3 separate regions of the Homo sapiens genome follow, and all the other regions are linked to region 1. The links are contacts of gene promoters, found by promoter capture Hi-C in blood cells and fetal thymus (Javierre and others, 2016). All regions are on one chromosome and are shown on one strand. The core of a region is centred on a gene start or on the middle of the fragment in contact, and the rest is flanking DNA. Distances in the headings are between cores, read along the strand shown. Region 1 holds the start of CALU (calumenin). Region 2 has its middle 3.6 kb from the start of HILPDA. Region 3 has its middle 7.6 kb from the start of TSPAN33.

The links. Contacts are between HindIII fragments. The CHiCAGO score rates a contact against its expected background, and 5 or more counts as called.
Region 2: a fragment that was not itself captured here is called in contact with the fragment with the promoter of CALU in region 1 in 1 of 17 cell types (fetal thymus); the score reaches 5.2 in fetal thymus.
Region 3: a fragment that was not itself captured here is called in contact with the fragment with the promoter of CALU in region 1 in 1 of 17 cell types (M1 macrophages); the score reaches 5.2 in M1 macrophages.

Annotation. Positions count from the first base shown.
Region 1 is chr7:128,737,684-128,741,317 of GRCh38, forward strand. CALU (calumenin) reads left to right here and starts at 1,676. Exons shown (of 7, transcript NM_001219.5): 1 at 1,676-1,749. RefSeq lists silencers at 1,283-1,422, 1,493-1,632 and an enhancer at 1,913-2,012. The HindIII fragment of the contact is 2,171 bases long and covers 207-2,377 here.
Region 2 is chr7:128,450,453-128,454,144 of GRCh38, forward strand. No RefSeq gene overlaps it. Among named protein-coding and RNA genes, the nearest start is that of HILPDA, 3.6 kb to the right of the region's middle. RefSeq lists an enhancer at 3,454-3,692. The HindIII fragment of the contact is 1,532 bases long and covers 1,673-3,204 here.
Region 3 is chr7:129,134,996-129,139,216 of GRCh38, forward strand. No RefSeq gene overlaps it. Among named protein-coding and RNA genes, the nearest start is that of TSPAN33, 7.6 kb to the right of the region's middle. RefSeq lists an enhancer at 2,233-2,282. The HindIII fragment of the contact is 420 bases long and covers 2,450-2,869 here.

The sequences.
Region 1 (3,634 bases), core at 426-2,925:
GCCACCACACCCAGCTAATTTTTAGTTTTTGTTTTTTTGTAGAGATAGGGGGAGGAAGGGTCTCGTTATTTTGCCCAGGCTGGTCTCAAACTCCTGGCCTCAAGTGATCCTTAAGGAGGTATTTTAAAAACTGTTTTCGAAATAATGCCTCCTGAGGTAGCCTGTTTTATTGTTAATACCCATTAGATGGCTTCCCTGTAGGCACAAGCTTAGAAACTTTCCCAGGAAGACCCACAGTTCCCACTGTCTTCAGTTCAGGTTCCTCAAATTGACAAGATCTTCCATTACCTCTCCAAACTTACTATCCATGCTTTTCTTTCATTGTTTCCCCCCACCCCTTTTTTTAACCTTCCTCATTTGCTACCTGGCCTGAGAATTTACCTCCCACTCTGCCCTCCACTTGTCCTTATTCCTATTACTCTTCTTGCTGAATAGTCCATTTGGGACTTCCTTAGTCCAGCCTTAGTCATATCTTCCTCTGAAGCCTTCCCTGACTACCACCAAGGGTCACTGACACTCCTTTGAATGCCAGAAGGATTAGTTGTAAACCTTTCACGTTGACAGTAACTAGCTTGCTTTCATGAGCTTAACTGTTTCATGAGTTTACAACTTGTCTCAATTTGATTTTAAACTACAGAGGCTTTATGTGCTAAGAATGCCACAGGTTTACATTCCATTTGTGTTGAAGCTATAGTAGCCTTTATTTGATATTTGTTTTAATTTCATGACATGAAATTAAATTTTCAGGGACATGCAACGGGTTCGGCCCATTCCCTTCACTTAACATTACTGAGCTGGGCAGTAAGCTCAGAGTTGCAGATATAAAGATGAATAGACAGATACCTACCCAGGAGCTTACTCTAGAAGAGGACAGATGGATAAGCTACATTTTATAGCAGAATTTGGCAAAGTGTACTGAAGCTATAAACAGCTATGATGGTAAATAAGGTAAGAATTATGCTTAGTGAGGTCAGGGAAGGCTTCTAGAGCTAACATCTGAACTGGGACTTCTATTGGCAAGGCAGAAAATCAGGAAAACGCACTTATTCCTGGCAGAGGAAGCCTCTTGATCAAAAATCTTAAGAGATGAAAAAGGACCGGTTGTTAGGAAACAGATGATGGTGCCCAGAGCGCAAGATGAGGGGGAGTGTTGGGAGATGGAGCTAAAAGATACACTGGTGCCAAAGACTGAAGAGCCTCCTGTAGATAGCGCAGGGCGCAGCGCTGAAGGGAAAGAAAAAGTTGGGATTGTTCAATAAAGTTGGTGACTGATTCAGTCGGATTAATTCCGCCCTGGTGGTCTTGTGGGAATGAAGATAACTAGCAGGATAGTCTAAGAAGCCCTGTGGAAGCAGAGTCATGAGCTGTGAATGGGGACGTGGCGGCCACACGGCCGCGCCCACGCCACCCGCAGTACGGGGCTGGGGCTGGGGCTGGGGCTGGAGCCCGCCGTCCCAACAATCCCGGGGACGAGAGTTGGGCGGGAATCCGCTCCACGCAACTCGGCGCGGTCCCGGGGACGTGGCGCTTTCCAGCCAATCCCGGCTATGCGATTGTTAGACCAATGGCTACTCGGGGACGCTATGCGACAGCGGCGGGTTTGCTGATGATTGGTCGGGAGGCCGCCGGCGAGGCGGATGAGGGCGGGGTGCGGACCCGCTTCCGGTTGGGCGGTGCTTGCGCGCGTGAGCTGAGCCGGTGGGTGAGCGGCGGCCACGGCATCCTGTGCTGTGGGGGCTACGAGGAAAGGTAAGTACGGTGATGCCCAGCCCCTTCACCACTGCCTCATCTTTATTCGCTTTCTTTCTGTCCCCGGTCTTGTTCTTGGCGCGGCAGGGGACTGCCTCACTCGGTGCCGCTGTCTCTGCTGGCGCCCGGGTCCCAGGCCTGATGCTGCTGGAGATCCCGGGACCCTCTGTGTGCAGCCTGGGATGGAGGCCGCCGCCCGTCTTACCGCGCGCTCTGGGAAGGGGGCTGGTCCGGTGGAACTCTGTCCCGTTGGGTACTGTTCTGTGCCTGGTTTGCTGCGTCCTGGTCCTCCATCTCTAGGTCACGCCACTCACCGAGTCTCTGGCACCAGAGGGTCATTTTTTGCCTCCGGAAGGTCGGAGGGCATTTGGATAGTGTTATTGTAAGAGTTCCTTGCCGCCTCCACTCACCATCCTGCTTGTATCTGCCAGCTCCGCCCCAAGGCCACATCCCGACAGTAGGGTGCATCTGCCAAGGTCGTGTTCACTCACCTAAAGGGTGCAGAAACAAGGGGGGAGAGAACGAGTGACGACACTAGGTGATATCTATGATTTTAAAGAAAAGCTGAATGTTTAGAGCTTCCATATTTGGCTACGTACTTCAGTTAGCGACGGAAAATAGTTTTTAAAGCTTTATTGGGGAATTAATTTTTGTTACGTTTTTTGTTGCTTCTAGCCCCATATCCTACTGATTTTTAGCATGCTGCGGTCAGAAATAAACTTAATTCCCTATAGCTGCCGCGATTAAGCGTAGAGTGGCTTGCAGTTTCAAAAGCTGCTTTTGCATCAAGGCCCAAGCTCCGTGGGTCTCCTGCTAAAACTTTTGAGCCTGTGATCTGAATTCCTAAGTGTATAAAATTCTAGAATAGTGTCTTCGAGAATTGAGTTGCGTTCATTTTCTGGTGTGGACCATGAAGTCAACGTTAATGAATTGGGAATAAGGTGGCTTCTAGTTGTTTTTTGTTCTAGTAGCTTATTCAGCTTGGAGGCAGAGAACCTTGGAATCTCTGTTAAATTAGTCTGCCATAGAATGGAACTTGACACAAGACAAATGCAAGTTTGACCTCACTCAGTAGATTTAATTAACCAAATACCAAACGACAGTAATCACTGAAGAATTTATATAGTATAATCCAAATGAGGGACCAGATATAACCTCTAAGTTGTATTTGTCAAGAAAATGAGTTTGCCAAGACCTAATCTGAGGTTTTACTGTGATTGGGGGGTGGGGGGGTTCCAATAGGATTCTTTTGAGAATCACAAGTAGGAAAGCCATGAGCTCACAAAAATGTATTGAGTATGCCTGAGTGAATAGTACTCAATATAGCTTTGAAACCAACTCATTGTCACTCTCAATGTAATCATTGTTTGTTTTCATTCATCCAGTGATGTGTCAAGAAGTACTTATTGATAGCACTTAATATCCATTAGAGCAGTATTGGGATCTATATATTGGTGTTATTTTTTAAAATTTATTTATTTTAGAGTTGAGGGTCTCAGTATGTTGACCAGGTGGAGCCTTGAACTCCCATGCTCAAGCAGTCCTCCTGCCTCAGCCTCCCAAGTAGCTGAGACTAGAGGTATATAACACCACACCCTAGTACATTGGTGTTAACACAGATTTTCTGTAACGTAGGTATACCAGGGATATTGAAAGGACAGAGGTGTAGCCAAGGATAGCCACTGGAAATGCTAGCTAGGCCACAAGGCCCTAGATTCTCACTCTCTGAACTCTTAAGTATGGATGTTGCTGATGCAGTAATTTATGTATTAGAGTTAAGACAGCTGAAATAACACTTTTGCCTGTTCCTGGCTGATTGCCAGATCCAGTAAACGGAATTGGAAGTTGGAGAACACAGGCAGGCAGGAACCACATTGCTGCCAAG
Region 2 (3,692 bases), core at 1,189-3,688, 290 kb before region 1:
GAAAATAATGACTTTATTCAGATATAGTTCACATATCAAAATCCACCGTTTTAAAGGATACAATTCAATGGTTAAGTACATTCATAGACTTGTATAACTGTCAGCACTAATTTTAGAACATTTCATCACCAGCCCACACACCAAAAAAAAAACCACCCTGTACCCACTAGCAGTCATTCCCCAGTCCCCTCTCCTCCAGCCCTTGGCAACCACTTACCTACTTTCTGTCTCTGTGGATTTGCCTTTTTTTTTTTTTTGAGACAGTCTTGCTCTGTTGCCCAGGCTGGAGTGCAGTGGTGTGATCTCGGCTCACTGCAACCTCTGCCTCCTGGGTTCAAGCGATTTTCCTGTCTCAGCCTCCCAGGTAGGTGGGACTACAGGTCAGCACCACCATGCCTGGCTAATTTTGTCTTTTTGGTAGAGACAGGGTTTCACCATGTTGGCCAGGCTGGTCTCAAACTCCTGACCTCCAGTGATCTGCCCACCTTGGTCTCTGTGCTGGGATCCTCAAAGTGCTGGGCTTACAGGTGGGAGCCACTACGCCCAGCCCTGGATTTGCCTATTCTGACATTTCATATAAATGGAATCATACGATATGTACCCTTTTGTTTCTGGTTTCTTTCACTTAGCATAATGTGTTCAAGGTGCATCCATATTGTAGCATGTATCAATACTTCATTTTTTATGGCTGAATAATATTCCATTGTATCACATTTTGTTTATCCTTTAGCCAGTTGACGGACATTTGGGTTGTTTCTACTTTTTTGGCTATTATGAATAATGCTGCTATGAACATTTGTGTATAAGCGTTTGTGTGTGAACATACATCTTCGGTTCACTTGGGTATATATTTAGGAGCTAAACTGCTGGATCATACAGTAACTCTATGTTTAACTTTTTGAGGAACTATTCTAAAGCAGCTGCACTATTTTACATTCTAACAGCAATGTATGAGGGTTCTGTTTTTTCTACATTTTCATCAACATTTGTTCTTTTCTGGGTTTTTTTGCTTGTTTGTGTTATAGCCATCCTAGTGAGTGTGAGGTGGTGTCTCATTGTATTCTATTTTTTATGTTCATTTTAACATAAATGTAGCATACTGCTCACATACTATAAACCCTTTTCATTTAACAATATATTGTGGAGATCTTGTCGATATATACAGAACTTACTCTCTTTTTTCTGGCTTTATGGTAATTCACTGTCTGAATGCACCATCTTTTATTTAACCAGTTCTCTACTGATGGGCTGTTTTTTCCAGTCTTTCATTATCACAAACAGTGCTGCAACAGTGCTACCTTTAAACACTCCATTCTCTACATGTGGAAGGATAAATCCTAAAAGTGGAATTCTGGGCTAAAGGGCATGTGTATGCTTTTATTTTTATAGACATTGCCAAATGGTAGTCAGTGGTCTTTTTTAACACCTCAATGGTCTTGAGGTGTTTAAAAAACAAGTGGGGGTCAGGGTAACAATTACTGACAAATTGATTTCCATACTGAATGTACCAGTTTATACTTACCAGAAATGTAAGTACATGTTATTTAAATGAACACTTGATGATAAGATCAAATTTGTGAAAATACTTGTGTTCTTAGTATGGTACTCTTGTGTGGGTTGACTTCAGAATCACTTCTTTTTAGGGGCTTTGGGGGAAGGGCAGCTTATAAAAAGCTTTCCTTGGTTGCAGCTCCAAGGAGGAGGTAGCACCTGAAAACGGCTTCTCTTGGCGCCCTTATCTACATTTCCTTGATGAAACAATGGGTACTCACTGAAGATGCTGGGTAAAATATTCATTCATTTATTCCTTCAGTCAACAAATATTTATCAAAAGCCTACTATTTGGTGCTAGCTGCTGGAGATGGAATGGAAACAAAATCAGACCAAACACTCCTTTCACTGACATTTTCAGGCTTTTGAAAGGACACAGACATTAATACAACTAAGGGTAAAGTAACACACTGGGAAAGAAATGCCTATCATGCCACTGGAGCCCGGAACAGGGTCCGAGGGTCAGCAAGGGTGACCAGAGGAAATATGTTTGAATTGAGATATGAAAGATGAGTAAAAGACTAGGTGAAGAAAGTCTCTTCTTCCTCTGGAAGAAAAAGCATAGTTAACAAATAAAGAAGGCTGGGTATGGTGGCTCACACCTGTAATCCCAGCACTTTGTGAGGCTGAGGCACGTGGATCACTTGAGGTCAGGAGTTTGAGACCAGTCAGGGCAGCATAGAGAGACCCCATCTCTACAAAAAAAAAAGAAAGAAAAGCAAGAAAAGAAAGGAAAGAAAGGGAAGAAAGGGAGAAAGAAAGAAAAAGAAAGAAAGAAAGAAAGAGAAAGAAAGAAAGAAAAAGAAAGAAAGAAAGAAAGGAAAGAAAAGGAAAAGAAAAGAAAAGAATTAGCTGGTGTGGTGGTGGCAAAGAAAGAAAAAAGAAAGAATTAGCTGGGTGTGGTGGTGTGTAACTGTAGTCCCAGCTACTTAGGAGGCTGAGGTGGTAGGATAGCTTGAGCCCAGAAAGTCAAGGCTGCAGTGAGCAGTGATCGTGCCACTGTACTCCAGCCTGGAAAACAAAGTGAGACCCTTTCTCAACAACAACAACAAATAAAGAAGAGAGGCAATAATACCTACCTCATAGCATCGTTAGAAAAATTAAATAATACATGTAATGCATTTAGCAAAATGTTCAGCACGTATCAGTTACTTGAAGAATGCTTATTTTGTTTCCACTCTTTCTTTCTTCTTTTTTTTTTTTTTGAGATGGAGTTTCCCTCTTGTTGCCCAGGCTGGAGTGCAATGGTCTGATCGCAGCTCAGTGCAACCTCTGCCTGCCAGGTTCAGGTGATTCTCCTGCCTCGGCCTCCCAAGTAGTTGGGATTAAAGGCATGCGCCACCATGCCTGGCTAATTTTGTATTTTTAGTAGAGAATGTTGGTCCATGTTGGTCAGGCTGGTCTCGAACTCCTGACCTCAGGTGATCTGCCCGCCTCAGCCTCTCAAAGTGCTGGGATTACAGGTGTGAGCCACCATGCCCAGCTCTTTTTTTTTTTTTTTTTTAAATAACCATAGTGAATGTTAAAATCCCAGTTCCCCAAGCAAAACATTACCACCCTACTTATGTACTTACTTCTAAACTCTACCCCACACTGCCTTGGGTTGTTAGTTATCTTATCTTATTCAGGTCTTGTTTACTCAACCAGGTGACAAGCTTATTTAGAACAAGAATCTGGCTTTATACTTTTTAGCAAAATAATAGCTACTATTTGTTGAGCATATATGACATACTCTTTATGGGCATTATTTCCAACCCTCACAACAACCCTGTTTTACAGATTATTTTCCTCATTTTACAGATAAGGAAACTAAAGTTCAAAGGGGTCAGTTAGCCTGGCCAAGGTGTTGAAGGCAGGACTAAATCCTGATGCAGGTAGCTACATTTGTAGCTGACAGAATGGTAAAGCATAGAGCTGCCCTCACCCAAACCCTTCTTATTTCCAACTGGCATGACCTTTAGACAATGGCAGGGAATATGGGGAGAAAGAATTGTTGGAGAGGTGCCCATCCCTTCTTCCAGCTGTGTGAAGTATAAATTTAGAACTCAAACTAAGTAGAACTCAAATGGTCATTGTAGAATTCCTGCATTCATTCAGCAAGCCTAGGCTGCTAATGAGCAAAACCCCTCACTGGGAGTTTT
Region 3 (4,221 bases), core at 1,410-3,909, 400 kb after region 1:
ACTAAACTGCATGTGGCCAGCTGGGCCTGAGGGATTAATCCAGGAATTAAACACTCTTCTCTCCAAGTCTCTCTCCTCTGTGCTCTTCCCTGGGTGACTGGTTCATTCTCCTGCAGCAAATCAACTATTTCACTCTTTAGTCCCCATGGCAAAAAAACATGGGTGTCCCTCTGCTACCAAGTGTATCTGTTAGAGGTTTAGCCACACAAAGAGTGAGTGAGTATCTCTGTGTTTTGAGAGGGAAGGAATTCATTGGCCCAGTTTAGATCAGGACTTATCTTCAGGGAGTGGATGGTGGGTGGGCAGGATCACATGGTACAAAATAGCCACCACATCTATGGATGGGGATGGAGCAGTTATGGGTACATAGGGATATGGTAGACCATCCAAAACTTCCATTACAGTTATACACATGTCTAACTCCCCAGTTAGATCGTGAGCTTCTCAAGGGTACTGACAGTGGCTCCTTCATCGTTGTGTGCTTTTGCCAAGAAATACATATTTATTAAATGAATTTATAACCAATTCTGTGGACCTTAACTTACACATTAGGCTCACACAAGCATCTGAAATAATGCATACAGATATTCTGATAGACATTTTAACATATAATAAACACTTTGTGGGCCGGGTGTGGTGGCTCACACCTGTAATCCCAGCACTTTGGGAGGCCGAGGCAAGTGGATTGCCTGAGGTCAGGAGTTCGAGACCAGCCTGGCTAATGTGGTGAAACTCCGTCTCTACTAAAAATACAAAAATTAGTCAGGCGTGATGTCGCACGCCTGTAGTCCCAGCTACTAGGGAGGCTGAGGCAGGAGAATCACTTGAACCCGGGAGGCAGAGGTTGCAGTGAGCCCAGATCGTTCCACTGCACTCCAGCCTGGGCAACAGAGAGAGACTCCATCTCAAAAAAATAAATAAAATAAAATAAACAATTTGGGGCAGACATTCTAGTTTCCTACTCATATCATTTCTGCCCTTCTTTCTTAATAGAACCCCACTTTTTTTTCCTTCAGGGGAGTAGTACCTTCAGTTAGCAATATTTACTCAGAGGTGATGATGTGGCCCAGTTCTAGCCAATGAGATATTAGCACAAGTTACTGGTAAAGCATCTGTGAATATTTTGTAAAAGGGACAAATGTGTCTGGCGTGTAACTTTTGCTTCTCTCTTTCCTTGCCTGGAATGTGAGTGTGATGTTTGGATGTGCAGCAGCTACCTTGTGACCATGAGAATGAAGTTTGCTCCCTAAGATGGGGTAGCAGAAAAATAGAAGGAGCCTGGCTCCTGGCTCCTTGAGGACTTTAGTAAGTCTTTGAGTGCAAAGGATCAGCCCTGAACAGTCTGTCCCCAGACTTCTTGTTGCCTGAGACAAAAAGCAAATAAAAACAAAACAAAACTTGTTTAAGCCATGGTTGGTTGTTTTTCTGTTACTTGCAGCTGAACATAGTCCTAACAAGCTTTTTTTAAAAAAGAAAAAAAAAAAAAAAGATTGGCCAGGTGCAGTGGCTCACACCTGTAATCCCAGCACTTTGGGAGCCTTAGAGGGTGCCGATTGCTTGAGCCCAGGAGTTCAAGACCAGCCTGGGCAACATGGCAAAACTCCATCTCTACCCCCCCACCCCCCCAAAAAAATATATATATATAATATATATTTTTATATTATATATGTGTTATATATATGGTATATTTATATATGTGTGTGTATATATATGTGTGTGTATATATACATATATATATATTCAGCTGGGCATGGTGGTATGTGCCTGTAGTCCCAGCTACTTAGGAGGCTGAGGCAGGAGGATTGCTTGAGCCTGGAAGGAAGAGGTTGTAGTGAGTCAAGATTGTGCCACTGCACTCCAGGCAGGGCGACAGAGTGAGACCTGTCTCAAAAAAGCAAAATAAAGCAAAACAAAAAAAAATTTAAACTAGAACTTATTTTTTAATTGTGCAAGCCCTATGCTTACCTAAGGAAAGATACTAGATCCTTTAGAGATGTTTTTCAAAAGTATTGTCCATAGATGATCCACATCAGAATTACACAGGCTGCTTGTTAGAGAAGGTAAATTTTCAGTGTGCTTGTTTGCTCAACCTAACCTCTCAACCGAGAATCAGAATCACTGGGGCTAGGGCCTGGAAATCTGCTCTTTCAACAAACTCACCAAACAATCCCTGAGCTCAGAAAATCTTAAGAACCACCAATAAATAATTCAAACAAGTTTGAATCATTTACTGGACAGCAAGGTAAATGTAACTAGTTTTTTTTTTTCCTTTTTAGTTTAACACCAATCCCCACACCTACCAACTTAACTTGATTATCATCAAGAAGGGTCCAAACTCTTTTTGAAGAGGAAACAAACTGTCAAGCTTCAATAAGAGCACACAATTTCCTGTGAGGTTGAAGCAAATGTTCCGCTTTCTTTATTAAGTTTATTTTAACTAAACTTGCTAAGCTTCCTCTAAATGTGTCATGCTATCCCTACCCCCTTCCTTTTTTGAGCACTGCCAATCACAGTCCCATTTCACATATGCAATTGTGCTCAGTGTCGTATTCTAATTGTCTAATACATTTGAAGTAAACACAATCCAATATACTTCTGATTTAATATTCCCTTAGTTTAGGCTCTCCTGAGTTATTAATTCTTTTTAGACTCAGAATACTCTTATCTAATTTTGTCTTTCTTATTGAACTAAAAGTGATTCTTATATGAAAAAAAAATAAGTAGAAACAATTTTTAAAACCCCAAATCTTGAATTTGAATATGATCAGAGGTCATTTATTAAGTAACAACAGAGGCAAATGACCAATATTAGACCCCCTAAACTATCGTGACCCTATCTTTTGGAGTCTTATTTCTCAAAACACCACAAAGCTTTTTCTCCTCTGTAGTCATTATGCCACCCTGAACTCATTCCCAACCGCTCATCTTTGCTTAGGCTGTGTCCCCATCTGGGGAAACCAAGCCTCACCTCCTCTTCAATTACTGCAACCCATTCTGCTAGTTCTCTTCTCTAAATTCTTATTCTAGTCACCATCATTACCACCTAATTTTTTAAATCTTCCCAAAGGAGATTTTGACACGTCAGTCTCCAACTAAAAATCCTTCAACAGCACCATGTTTTCTTTTTTTTTTTTTTCTTTTCTTTTAAAATAGAGTCTTGCTCTGTTGCCCAGGCTGGAGTGCAGTGGCGCGATCTCAGCTCACTGCAACCTCCACCTCCCGGGTACAAGCGATTCTCCTGCCTCAGCCTCCCAAGTAGCTGGGACTACAGGCACACCATCACACCTGGCTAGATTTGGATTTTTAGTAGAGACGGGGTTTCGCCATGTTGGTCTGGCTGGTCTTGAACTCCTGACCTCAGGTGATCCACCTACCTCAGCCTCCCAAAGTGCTAGGATTACAGGCGTGAGCCACCGCACCTAGCCGAGCACCATGTTTTCAACACTGAATACATCCTGTGTCCCATGCTCTGCTAGGTGCCAGGGGTACACATACTAATGCAACACGGGCAGAGTCCTACAGGCATTATGGACTGATGGGTTGTTATCACCGGGGCTCACTAGAAATCTCAAGTTGTCTACAGAGTGAACTGGAACTGGAAACAATCCTCAAGGCCCTCCATGATCTGTTTCTAATTTATTTTACTAATTGTATCCCACCTTATTCTCTCCCCTTTGATCCAAATACATGGGGCTACTTGCCACTAGCCAAACACACCTGCCCCCTTTCTGTCTCTCTGAATTTGCTCACTTTGATCTCTGCTCCTAAAGTGACCTCACTTCTCTACCCATGTCGATTCTGACATATCCTTGAGGACTCAGATTTCAAATGCCACCTTCTTCATGAAACATTATGTTGCTTATGAAGTTCTAATTACGTCAGGTTTCTCAAAAAGAACCCCACATAATACCAAGTGCAATGACTAGTTCTTGATTAAATCCTGGTTTGAACAAACCAGCTGTAAGATATTCTGGGGTCAATTGGGGAAATTTAAGTATGAACTGGGCACAAAATTATATTAGGAAATTATTGTTAAACTTATCAGGAATGATAACATTATCATAGTTATATAAAAAGTCATTATTTTTAGATATGAAAGTGAAATTAATGGGTTAAATGACATGATAGCTCAAAAATGGAAGAAGGAAACATGAGAAAATGGGAAAATTTGGTAATGGGAATACTGTAGATGTTTCTGGATTTCTACTTTTCTGTGCATTT